3 separate regions of the Homo sapiens genome follow, and all the other regions are linked to region 2. The links are contacts of gene promoters, found by promoter capture Hi-C in blood cells and fetal thymus (Javierre and others, 2016). All regions are on one chromosome and are shown on one strand. Each heading gives the region's core, a stretch centred on a gene start or on the middle of the fragment in contact. The rest is flanking DNA. Distances are from core to core; before and after follow the strand shown. Region 1 holds the start of TCTN1 (tectonic family member 1). Region 2 has its middle 2.0 kb from the start of IFT81. Region 3 holds the start of VPS29 (VPS29 retromer complex component).

Region 1 (3,796 bases), core at 336-2,835, 490 kb before region 2:
CCAGGAGTTTGAGATCAGCCTGAACAACATAGCGAGATCTCATCTCTACTAAAAATAAAAAAATAAAAAAAGCAAGCTGGGGGAGCACGCCTGTGGTTCCAGCTACTCTGGAGGCTGAGGCAGAAGGATCCCTTGAGCCCAGCAGATTGAGACTTAAGTGAGATATAATCACGCCACTGCACTCCAGCCTGGGTAACAGAGCGAGACCTTGTCTCAAAAACAAAAAAAGAATAAAAAAAGATTAAAAGTACTGCATATCTATTGGGGTTACTCTCAATTCACACAATCGGAAAATTTTAAAAACTTTTTTTGAGATCATGAACCACTTTAAGAATCGGCTGCTATGAACTCTCATCTCAGGAAAAGGCATATTCACAAAGTTTTGCACTCAATCTTAGCGGGTCACAGTCATTCAGTGAAGTCATCCATGTCAATTTTTTTTTTTGAGACAGTCTTGCTCTGTCGCCCAGTCTGGAGTGCAGTGGTAATTACTGCAACCTCTGCCTCCTGGGTTCAAGCGAGTCTCCTGCCTCAGCCTCCCGAGTAGCTAGGATTACACCATGCCCGGCTATTTTTTCTATTTTTAGTAGAGACTGGGTTTCGCCATTTTGACCAGACTGATCTTGAACTCCTACCTCAAGCAATCCACCCGAGTTGACCTCCCAAAGTGCTGGGATTACAGGCGTGAGCCACGGCGCCAGCCAAACGTCAAATTAGATTATAAAATATTTCCACTAAATGTGTAATTCTAGAATTAATCATTTTCTGAAAAAAATGTTAATTATCCCTACATATGACTCCTAAGAAGTGAGCATAACCCCTCCCTCAATAGCTTTCCACCTCCAATTCAACACAGGAGGAATCCTGGGTTTTTAGAATTCAGGTCAACAGAGAAGGGTCTTAACATAGTCACATTTAGTAAGATAGACCTTTGGCCTCTCTTTAAGTGAAAGTTCAGTGCAGCCAAGGCACTAATTTCCACCATTGTCTCGACTTAATTTCGTCTTGGGCTGCAAGAATTCATTATTGCTCTTTGCATCACTGTTGTCTGGGACCACTTCAAGTATTTTCAAAGGTTTGATACCGTTCCACTTAAACTCTGAGACCCGGTTTTCTCATTTACCTGACAGTGATAGTAACAGCTACTTCTCAGGGTTATTGTTTAGAGAATGGACGTTTATGGAACACTCAGCAGTGTCTGCACACAGTAAGTGCTCAATAAGAGTTAGCTATCATTATTACGTCCTCACCGGGGCTGTCCCCTTGAGGTTGGATCACTGTGGACTCCAGGAGCTGGCACATGGTACCCACCGTCCGTGACTGGGGTAGGCCTGGGGCCGGAGGAGGGCCCTGGAGCCCTGGGAGTCCCGGGGGGCCTGGTCGACGGGAAAGTTCCGAAGGTGGCCAGGGCTGCCTCGGTGGAGTTGAGGCCCTCTGTCGTCACCGCCGGGGTGGCATCGGTCTGGGCGCTCACGGAGGCCCAGCAGCCCAGGAGCACCACCAGGAGCGGCGGGAGACCTCGCGGCCTCATCTCCCAGGGAGTCCCAGCGAGGCCCGCGACATGGACAGCGCGTTGCCCGGCAACCGCGACAGCCAGGCGCGGGGCATCACGGGAAGGGGCTTGCGAAGCCGCGAGAAGCTGCCGGAGACTGACTGGGGCGAAGCCTGGATGAGGCAGGGGGCGGATCCCGGATGAGGCCGGAGGGCGGCGCCTGGGTGAGGCAGCGATGGCAGGCACAGGGGCGAGCACTAGTGAGCGGGTGTGAAGCTGGCGTAAACGAGGGGCGTGTAAATCCCGGCTGTGGTTTCCAACCGGTCCGCGGCGCTTGCTTAAAAAATGCAGATTTTCTGTAGTTCCAGCTACTCGGGAGGCTGAGGCAGAAGAATCGCTTGAACCCGGGAGGTGAAGGCTACAGAGAGCCGTGAGCGTGCCACTGCACTCCAGCCTGGGCGACAGTGTGACACTCTGTCTCAACCAAAAAAAAAAAAAAAAAAAAAAAAGACGGATTTCCAGGTACCACCTCAGGAGATCCTGAGTCAGTTAGTCTAGGGCAGGACCCAGGAATCAGTTTTTGGGGGATTTTTTTTGAGACAGGGTCTCACTCTGTCGCCCAGGCTGGAGTGCAGTAGCGCGATCTCGGCTCACTGCAGCCTCGACCTCTGGGACTCAAGCAATCCTCCCACTTCAGCCTCCTGAGTAGCTGGGAACTCAGGCGCGCGCCACCATACCCAGCTAATTTTTGTATTTTTTTTTTTTTTTTTTTTTTTTTGTAAAGACGAGGTCTCCCTCCGTCGCCCGGACTGGTATCGAACTCCTGGTTCAAGTGATCCACCTGCTCCAGCCTCCTGAGTCCTGAGTAGTTGGGATTACAGGCGTGAGCCACCACTCCCAGCCAGGAATAAATATTTTTAACAAATGTCCGGACGCAAGCAGATGAGTTGGACGGAAATTTAGGAAGCGCCGTCCCAACGCCACTAACGTGGGTGTTTGGAAGGAGCACAGGGATCTGTGAGATCACTGTCTCTGAATTTTCTCTATCCCAGACTCTGTCAACACTGGCTTCACCTTTTTATTTTAGCTGCATCTCACAAGGTTGCCAGATAACTTCTGTCTGCTGTATTGTGATAAAGGGGACAAATGAACACTTAATACCTTTTATTATTTTTTGTAGAGAGGGGGTCTCACTATGTTGATCAGGCTAGTCACAAACTCCTGGCCTCAAGTGATCCTCCCGCCTCAGCCTCCCAAAGAGCTAGGATTACAGGCATGAGCCACCACGCCAGGCCTAAGAACCTATTTAAAGACAAAAATCTTTTACAAAAATTAAGTAAAATAATTTAGACATCTTAAAGGGGAAAACAAAGCAAATCCACTGTAATGCTACAAAACGACCTGGAGACCCTACGATTTAGGAAACCCTCTCCATTCTGAATGGGCTTATTTAGGAGGTACCCAAGCCCAAGAATGTTGGCTGCACCTTTGACACTTAATCTCCATACAGTTCAGAAGTAGATGTCGAAGTACTTAGACGTGGCCAGGCACAGTGGCTCACACCTGTACTCCCAGCCCTTTGGGAGGATCGCTTGAGTCCAGGAGTTGAGACCAGCCTGGGCAACATGGTGAAACCACATCTCTACAAAAAATACAAAAATTAGCCAGGTATGGTGGCACATTCCTGTAGTCCCAGCTACTCAGGAGGCTGAGGTGGAAGGATCGCCTCAGTCTGGAGAGCTTGAGGCTGCAGTAAGCCATGATAGTGCCACTGCACTCCAAAACAAAAAAACCTTAAACATAACACAGTATTTATTCAAGAAATGTATATACCAATTCAAAAGGATGTCAAACAGTATATATATCTAGTTTATTAAATGTATTTAGCAAAACTAAATCATCAAAGTGATATCTTTAGCACCTTCCTGTGGCATTCCAGAGACAGTGTATAAAAATATAATTGAATCACTCAAATGTGTAAGACAGATACTTCTTTTTTTCTGCAAAGGATTGCTTTAGCATCTGACTGAAATTCTGGACTGCTTTTAATAACTGATTAAATGCTTCCCCTTTTAAAAAAAATAACCAAAAGTAGGCCGGGCATGGTGGCTCACGCCTGTAATCCCAGCACTTTGGGAGGCTGAGGCGGGTGGATCACGAGGTCAAGAGATCAAGACCACCCTGGCCAACATGGTGAAACCCCGTCTTTACTAAAAATACAAAAATTAGCTGAGCATGGTGGTGGGCACCTGTAGTCCCAGCTACTCAGGAGGCTGAGGCGGGATAACTGCTTGAACCTGGGAG
Region 2 (3,817 bases), core at 591-3,090:
GCGCGCGCGCGCACGAGCTGGGGGGCGGGGCCGGGCCAGGGCGGGGAGGACGGGCGCGGGGCGGAGCGGACGGGGCGGGGCGGGGCGGAGCGGACGGGACGGGGCGGGACGGGGCGGGGCGGACGGGGCGGACGGGAGCCGGGCTTACTTGCAAAGCGGGCCCACGTGCTGAGCCACTGCAGACAGCCGAGGGCATTTGGGACTGTTACTCCGACCTAGACGCGCTACAATAAGCTTCCCGAAAGTCCTGCACTTCGCAGTTTACAAAATACTCTCTGCATGATTAACCTATGTTAAATGCGTGTGATGTTTCATTCATTCATTCATTCATGCATGCATGCATGCATTCATGCGCCAAACGTGGGTGATGATTTTTGTTTGTTTTTGAGGCAGGGCTGGGTGGTAGGGGGGTTGGGATGAGCAAGCATTTGGCCAGTGCTTCAAATTTAGGTTTTTGACATAAGTATCTCCAAATTAGGTTATGCATAGGAACAATTGTAGTGAGGCTCTGGCAGGATTAAAAGAAGACACATTCATCATAGAGATTTCAGCTTCTGTGTCACATTACTGGGCCACATTGCCTGTACTGGGAATTAAATTTTTTTAAACCCAATACGTTTTGAGTATGCTGAGAGCCTGAAAGGGGGTGTGGGAGAACTAAGTGTCCTAATGTTCCTTTGGCTTCTGAGTGGGCTCTCTTTAGGTGACTGCAGAAATAAATTAAATCCTCCTTGTGGTCTTCATGGAGTTCACATCCCACGCAGGACGCAGGGAGATCTTTGTGCCCAGTCACTGATGAGGTTTAAAAGTCTACTGGAATTTGCACTAGCTGGTTTGTGGGAGACCTTAGTTGGCAAATGGTATTTTGAACCAACCTCTATTAGACTAGAGACCACGATACTTAGTGATATCAGCTGGCAATGAAAGAAAGAGAAGGAAAAAAAATCAAATTATTGATACCTTGAAAACTTAGTTGCCTGCTCAAACAGCATAGGAGAAACCAACTATAGCTTTAGCATCAGACTTACCACAACAAAAAATAACAGATTACGTATTAGGCATTTCCTATATGCCCTGTACTGTACAGGCTGCTGGAAATGCAGAAGGGCAGGACTTACCTGGCCCCTGCCCTGATGGAGCTGACAGTCTAGTGCCGGCAGAGATTATTAAAGGGGCAACACCAATACAATTGAGATAAATGCTGTAACAAGAGAAGCCAATGATTAGGAGCCCAGATTAAGGGCCTCAAGTTTATTTGGGGAGGGTGGTGCCAAAGGGGCCATACCATCAGGAAAGTTTCTGTCAAATGGAGTGATGTTTAAGGATCAGTAAAAATTAGGCCTGGCACCGTGGCTCACGCCTGTAATCTCAGCACTTTGAGAGACCAAGGCAACAAGATAACTTTGAGCCCAGGAGTTCAGGATCAGCCTGGGTAACAGAGCAAGACCCTTTCTCTACAAAAAATTAAAAGCAAAAATTGGTCAGGGGTGGCACCATTGCACTCCAGGCTGGGCAACAGAAGGAGACCCCCATCTCTTAAAAAGGATCAGTAAAAATTAGCCAAACAGGAAAAGGGAGAGTGTTTTGGGCAGAGGCAACACAACATTCCAAGACCAGTCCCTTTGTTGGCTGCCCTCTGACTGTTGAAATATCAAGCGTAGGTACCCTGCAGGGCTCCTGGAGAGAAACTAAAACTGGCCCCACCCCACAACCAATTAGGGGAAGCAACACTCAAAACCTCAAAGAATTAAATAACTTACATAATACTGACAGAAACAATACAAGATTTGTAGAAGGGATTATATAATTCATTGATCCTGTTGGGTGTGTTAGGAGACATCCCTGGCTACCTGGGTTTGAATTCTGCATCTGCCATTGTGTACCCTCTCTTTATCTTGCTAAACTTTCCTCATCTGTAAAACGTGGCTATAATAAAACCTTCCTCAATAGGGTTGACATGAGGATTAAGGGAGTTGATACAGGTAAAGTGATTACAACAGTGCCCAACATTGGGAGGCACTGAAGACATTTATGTTTTTTCTTTTTAAAAAAATGAGGCATGTACATGGTGGCTCATGCCTGTAATCTCAGCACTTTGGGAGGCTGAGGTGGGAGGACAGTCTTAGCCCAGGAGTTCAAGTCCAGCCTGAGCAACAGTGAGACCCCATCTTTAAAAAAAGAAAAGAAAAAAGAAAAAAAAAAGAAGTAAAAGAATTTTTTGAATAAAACTTTAAAAATAAGATGGTTTGCCAGACACAATGGCTCATGCCTGTAATCCCAGCACTTTGGGAGGCTGAGATGGGCCGATCACTTGAGGTCAGGAGTTCAAGACCAGCCTGGCCAACAAGGTGAAACCTCATCTCTATCAAAAATACAAAAATTAACTGGGTGCGGTGGTGCATGCCTGTAATCCCAGCTACGTGGGAGGCTGAGGCAGGAGAATCACTTGAACTTGGGAGGCAGAGGTTGCAGTGAGCGAAGATCACGCCATTGCACTCCAGCCTGGGCAACAGAGTGAGACTCTGTCTCAAAAAAAAAAAAAAAAAGAAAAGAAAAGAAAAAAGAAAAAGTAAAGAAAAGAAAAAAGAAAAAAAAAAGATGGTTAGATTTGCACCTTCTATAGGGTTTATGGGTATAGGCTATAGAAATCCTAGATAGGAGTGGTTTATCTAATAGCTTTTAGTTCCTCCTCTCTCTGTTGCCCCTGGTCTACAAACACTATACCTTTCAGTTATGAGACTGCAATCCTGTATAAATTCAAATAAGCAAGAGGATCCACTCTTTGGACTCAAACTTGAATAGATTTTATGCTTAATATGGTTGCTCTGGAACACGGGGAAGAACTTGAAGCCAGTCAGCATGCTTCCTGGAATCTGTATATTGAAAAATTTATGTTCCGACTTACAGTAAAAAAGAGAACTGCATATATTGGGTCCCCGAGGCCAAAGGAAGATTGGCTACCACCCCCTGATTCTGTGTGTGTGTGTGTGTGTGTGTGTGTGTGTGTGTGTGTGTGTGTGTGTGTTTGTGTTTGGAGATGGAGTCTCACTTTGTCACCCAGGCTGGAGTGCAATGGCGCAATCTCGGCTCACTGCAGCCTCCGCCTCCTGGGCTCAAGCAATTCTCCTGTCTCAGCCTCCCTAAAGTGCTGGGATTACAGGTGTGAGCCACCGCGCCCAGCCGCCTGATTCATTTAACATAAAACCTTGGGTGGATTCGTTGAAGAGTCTAAGAGGGAATTGTCAGCAACAATTTCACAACAACAGAGGCATTGCTGATCTCCTCCCAGCTGAGCTACCCGTGAAGCCTTTTTTTTTCCTCCTTAGATGCTATGTTGAGTCTTCTCTGTAAGCTCCCAACAATGCCTTTTGGCTGAACTATATTTGACATTTTTAATAGAGGGAGGGAAGTTCCAGCCATATGTGACAGCCTTTCTGAAAGCTTCCCACTCCTTCCTTACTCTCTTTTTGAAACAGCTCTATTAAGATATAATTCACATACATACAATTCACCCATTTAAAGTGTACAATTCAGGCTGGGCATGGTGGCTCACGCCTGTAATCCCAGCACTTTGGGAGGCTGAGGCGGGCAGATCACCTGAGGCCAGGAGTTCGAGACCACCCTGGCCAATATGCGGAAATCCCGTCTCTACTGAAAATACAAAAAAAAAAAAAAAAAAAAATTAGCCAGACATGGTGGTGGGCATCTGTAATCCCAGATACTCAAGAAGCTGAGACAGGAGAATCGCTTGAGCCCAGGAGGCAGAGGTTGCAGTGAGCCGAGATCACATCACTGCACTCAAGCCTGGGAAACAGAG
Region 3 (3,960 bases), core at 224-2,723, 380 kb before region 2:
CCGAAATTTGTCCTTCTATATGTTTACAGTGTTGCATGGAGCTACTGTGCAAACCAATTTCCATACTAATGTATTTTACAACTTGATTTAGATAAATGTATTTGACCCCCCAAAAACTGTGAAAACAGTGCATGGAGAAGATAATCTGAAGTGGTTTTAATAGCTTGATAGCCAAGTCACAACAAGTCATGAGAGAGAAATTAGGGGTATCCAACATACATCTCTGATGTTTGAGGGCAGCCAGATTTCCCCACCACAGAACACATTTAGGGCTGGAAAACACACTAGTCTGATCCCGTACGACATTGTTAATGTTCTTTTTATTTTTTATTTTTTTTGAGACAGAGTCTCACTCTGACACTCAGGCTGGAGTGCAGTGGCACGAGCTCAACTCACTGCAGCCTCAACCTCCCGGGCTCAATCGATCCTCTCGCCTCAGCCTTCCAAGTAGCTTGGGATTACAGGCGCCCACCACTAAGCCCGGCTAATTTTTGTATGTTTAGTAGAGACGGGGTTTCATCATGTTGGTCAGGGTGGTCTCGAACTCCCGACCTAAGGTGATCCACCCGCCTTGGCCTCCCAAAGTGCTAGGATTACAGGCGTGAGCCACTGCACCCGGCCTAACTTCCATTTTGAAAGCGCCGTTTACAACACTAATAGTTCTTGTACATTCCATCTATTACTGGGCTCTTTACACGCATTTCCATTTCATTGCCTCCAAACAAACTCTGTGACGAAGGTGCTGTCATTACCCCTGTTTCCGTTTTAGAAACTGAGCCCCAAAGAGATTTAGTGACTTTTCCAAGTTCATACATTTTTAAAAATGGTAGAATCTGGGGAAAAAAAAAACCAGGTTAATGCTGTTCTCTTGGCACAAAAATACTTTTACTGTCCAAGCATTATTTTTTTCTCTCAACTCTTCCCCATGCAGTCCTCAGCATCCCGAGTTTGTGGCCCGATGGTACAACTCTATTTCCCGGATACCACCCATATTACATCTGCCTCTAAGTCACACGAGATGGGTCCTCATCCTCCCCTCAGAAGTTAACAGGGACTTGAGTGGGTGGGGCTGTGGCCAGGGCGTGCGTCCTCAGTCATTGCGCAAAAAGGCAAAGAGGAAAAATTAGACAATGGTAGGGACGACCTATTAACGTCTGCTTTTCTCTCTGCTAAATGGGAAGACAACAAAGGCCGCTCCACCTTTCACCTGACTGCCGCTCATCACGCACTTCAGCATGGCTGCCATCCGCCCTAAAAAGCAGGCTCGGAAGGCGCGCCTCAGCTCGACGGCCCAGGTGCCCGGATGTTGCCCGCGCTTTTCAAAGCTTCGCGATCTCGTCTCTGCACTCTACCACCCCGCCTCCACAAGTTCCCAAACGGCTTTACGGCGGAGAAGGGTCCGTGCGGGCCTCCGTACGGCAATTTCTGTCTCCCTCTGCTCTCATTGGTTGCGGTTAAGTGGGCGGGTCGCCGAGGAGCCTGAGGAAGAGGGCGGCGACGGTGGTGGTGACTGAGCGGAGCCCGGTGACAGGATGGTGAGGGCTGCAGTTGCGGCGACCAAGGCCTGGCTCTCGGGTGGGGTGCTGCGTTGTTGGGAGCCGTGGGGAGGCCGAGGGCGAGGAATTGGGAAATCCCGGAGGCCTCGGCGTCAGGGCCCAGGCGCTGGCCTGGGAAAGGCCCAGAAGAGGTCTAGGGAAGGAAGGGAGCGGCCACCTCTGGGTGCGGCTGGCCTAGGTCTCGTATCCCGGCCCCAAGGGGCCAGAGGCCATCCAAGGGGTAAAAAGGCCCCTCTAGCAGCCCGACCTGTCACGAGACACGCACGCCCGAGCCAGGGAAGGCCTTTGGTCCTATACCTCGAATGTTCCGGGGATAGGGGCACGGTCCTCCGTTTCCAGACGGTTCCTACTCGTTTCCCGCAAAAAGCACCTCCCGCTGGTTGGGGTGTAGTGGTGGAAGCTGGCCTCTCGAATGCAGAACAGGAAGTAGCGAGCAGAATTTCGTACCCGTTTAACTTTGCCATCTAGGGAAAGGGAATAAACCACCCTCCTCGCTCCTGAAATAACATCTAGCTGCCATTGAGATGAGCAGGTGTGCTCTCAGAGGGCGGGATTTGGCGCTTGCAATTGCTGGAACTGTTTCTTTCCACGGGTTGCTACGCCTCTTTAGGGTAGGATTCCTTAATGATGTGTGAACTCATTGAAACTGTTGGGAAATTTTTGTGAATATACACATTTTTCTGGGGAGAGTGCCGGTGTTGGAGACTTACCTAGTCTCCCCCAGCCACCTTCAAGCAATCACCCCTTCACCCCCAGTAGTTTGGTGCCCCTCAGACCTTCCTACATAAAAACTGGGGGCCTCTACTAGAGAGGACTCAGAGCTGTAATCATATTTTCTTTCTTTCTTTTTGAGATGGAGTCTCGCTCTGTCGCCCAGGCTGGAGTGCAATGCCGCGATCTCGGCTCACTGCAATGCCGCCCGGGTTCAAGCCTCAGCTCCTGCCTCAGCCTCCCGAGTAGCTGGGATTACAGGCGCCCGCCACCAAGCCCGTCTAAATTTTTGTATTTTTAGTAGAGACGGGGTTTCACCATGTTGGTCAGGCTGGTCTCTACCTCCCGACCTCAGATGATCCACCCGCCTCGGCCTCCCAAAGTGCTGGGGTTACAGGCGTGAGCCACCGCGCCCGGCCTGTAATCATATTTTCAAAGGTGCCTTTGACTCTTAAAAAGTCAATTGTTTGGGGCAACCCACTCGGGTCCCCTTCCACCCTGTGTAAGCTTTGTTCTTTCGCTCTTCACAATAAATCTTGCTGCTGCTCAAAAAAAAAAAAAAAATCAATTGTTTGAAATGGAGCTGTGATTATCTTCATATTTGTGTTGATGGAGGTTGGCTGTAAAGGGACGTCTACCTCTGACAGGCATTTATTGCATTCTTTTTTATTTTTACAAGGAAACCAAAGAAGCTATGCATTTTTAAGATTATTACTATTGCATGACAAACAGCCTTTTCAAGAGGGGGACTTACAGACATGGCAGCCAGAGATTTATGGTGCATGCTTCTTTAAAATCTTTAATCTCACTTTTAATTTTTGCTTCTAAACAGACTCCAATTTAAAGTAATCCGTTTACAGTAATTTCGAGACACCTATCCATGGGAGAAGACATAATTACTTGCCATGGTTTCAAAATATTAATGTTTCTCAAGTTGTTTGAGAAGTGATCCCTCTTATTTAGGGTAGTTGTACTGGAACATCATTTTTCATATGAAATAGAACTGGGAAAAATTTAGCATTAGCCAGTTCTTTCATGATTAAAAGCATTTTATTTGGCAAAGGATACAGACGTTCAACACTCAGTACAGTGTCCAGAGTCTGTGGGCAGCAAATTCAAGTGTGGGAAAGGTCCAGTTTTACCTGAATAAATGTGTTTGTTTTTATTATTTTGTCTTCACCTTTAGTTGATTTGTTCAACACTTGATAATGTATTCATGGTGCTGTGTTGCATCAGCTACAAAAAATCACCTAGCCGCAGCATAATTTTCCAGCTACTAGAATTTTGAATGTAAGATAATTAACATCCATATACTTGAATAATTAAACCCTAAGAATCCAGAAAATGTTAGCCTTTCAGCTATTACTGATGATAAATTTTCCACAGTGTCTTGTAGAAATCCAAATTCATTATTTTATAAAATCTTATAAAAATCTAAACAGAATGGAAAACAGAGATGGAAGTCGATGTACAGAACAAGATTAGGAAAAGTAGGAGAAACTGACAAGACAAATTTATTAAAAAGTGTGTGTGTCATGTTCAAAAATAAAGCAAATATTTATTTTGGTATTGTTTTGAGCACAGCTGATTTTTAACATTTTCTTTCATAACACTCAGAAATCATTAACAATTGTTTGCTCATTTGGTATGGGTTTTTTGTTCTCTTTTTTTTTTTTGGTTTCTTTTTGTTGCT

What was found. Contacts are between HindIII fragments. The CHiCAGO score rates a contact against its expected background, and 5 or more counts as called.
Region 1: the fragment with the promoter of TCTN1 here is called in contact with a fragment that was not itself captured in region 2 in 2 of 17 cell types (fetal thymus and total CD8 T cells); the score reaches 5.8 in fetal thymus.
Region 3: a contact is called between the fragment with the promoter of VPS29 here and a fragment that was not itself captured in region 2, in 1 of 17 cell types (fetal thymus). The highest score is 5.3, in fetal thymus.

The regions. Positions count from the first base shown.
Region 1 is chr12:110,611,918-110,615,713 of GRCh38, reverse strand. TCTN1 (tectonic family member 1) reads right to left here and starts at 1,585. Exons shown (of 15, transcript NM_001082538.3): 1 at 1,312-1,585. The coding sequence starts at 1,531. RefSeq lists an enhancer at 1,259-1,308. The HindIII fragment of the contact is 6,908 bases long and covers 1-3,796 here.
Region 2 is chr12:110,120,489-110,124,305 of GRCh38, reverse strand. No RefSeq gene overlaps it. Among named protein-coding and RNA genes, the nearest start is that of IFT81, 2.0 kb to the left of the region's middle. RefSeq lists a silencer at 1-135. The HindIII fragment of the contact is 3,207 bases long and covers 237-3,443 here.
Region 3 is chr12:110,499,624-110,503,583 of GRCh38, reverse strand. It overlaps VPS29 (VPS29 retromer complex component), which reads left to right and starts at 1,473. Exons shown (of 4, transcript NM_016226.5): 1 at 1,473-1,535. The coding sequence starts at 1,533. It overlaps RAD9B (RAD9 checkpoint clamp component B), which reads right to left and starts at 1,253. Exons shown (of 11, transcript NM_001286535.2): 1 at 1,201-1,253. The coding sequence starts at 1,246. It overlaps LOC124903015 (a long non-coding RNA gene), which reads right to left. Exons shown (of 2, transcript XR_007063458.1): 2 at 3,759-3,960. RefSeq lists an enhancer at 1,505-1,644. The HindIII fragment of the contact is 1,449 bases long and covers 1,328-2,776 here.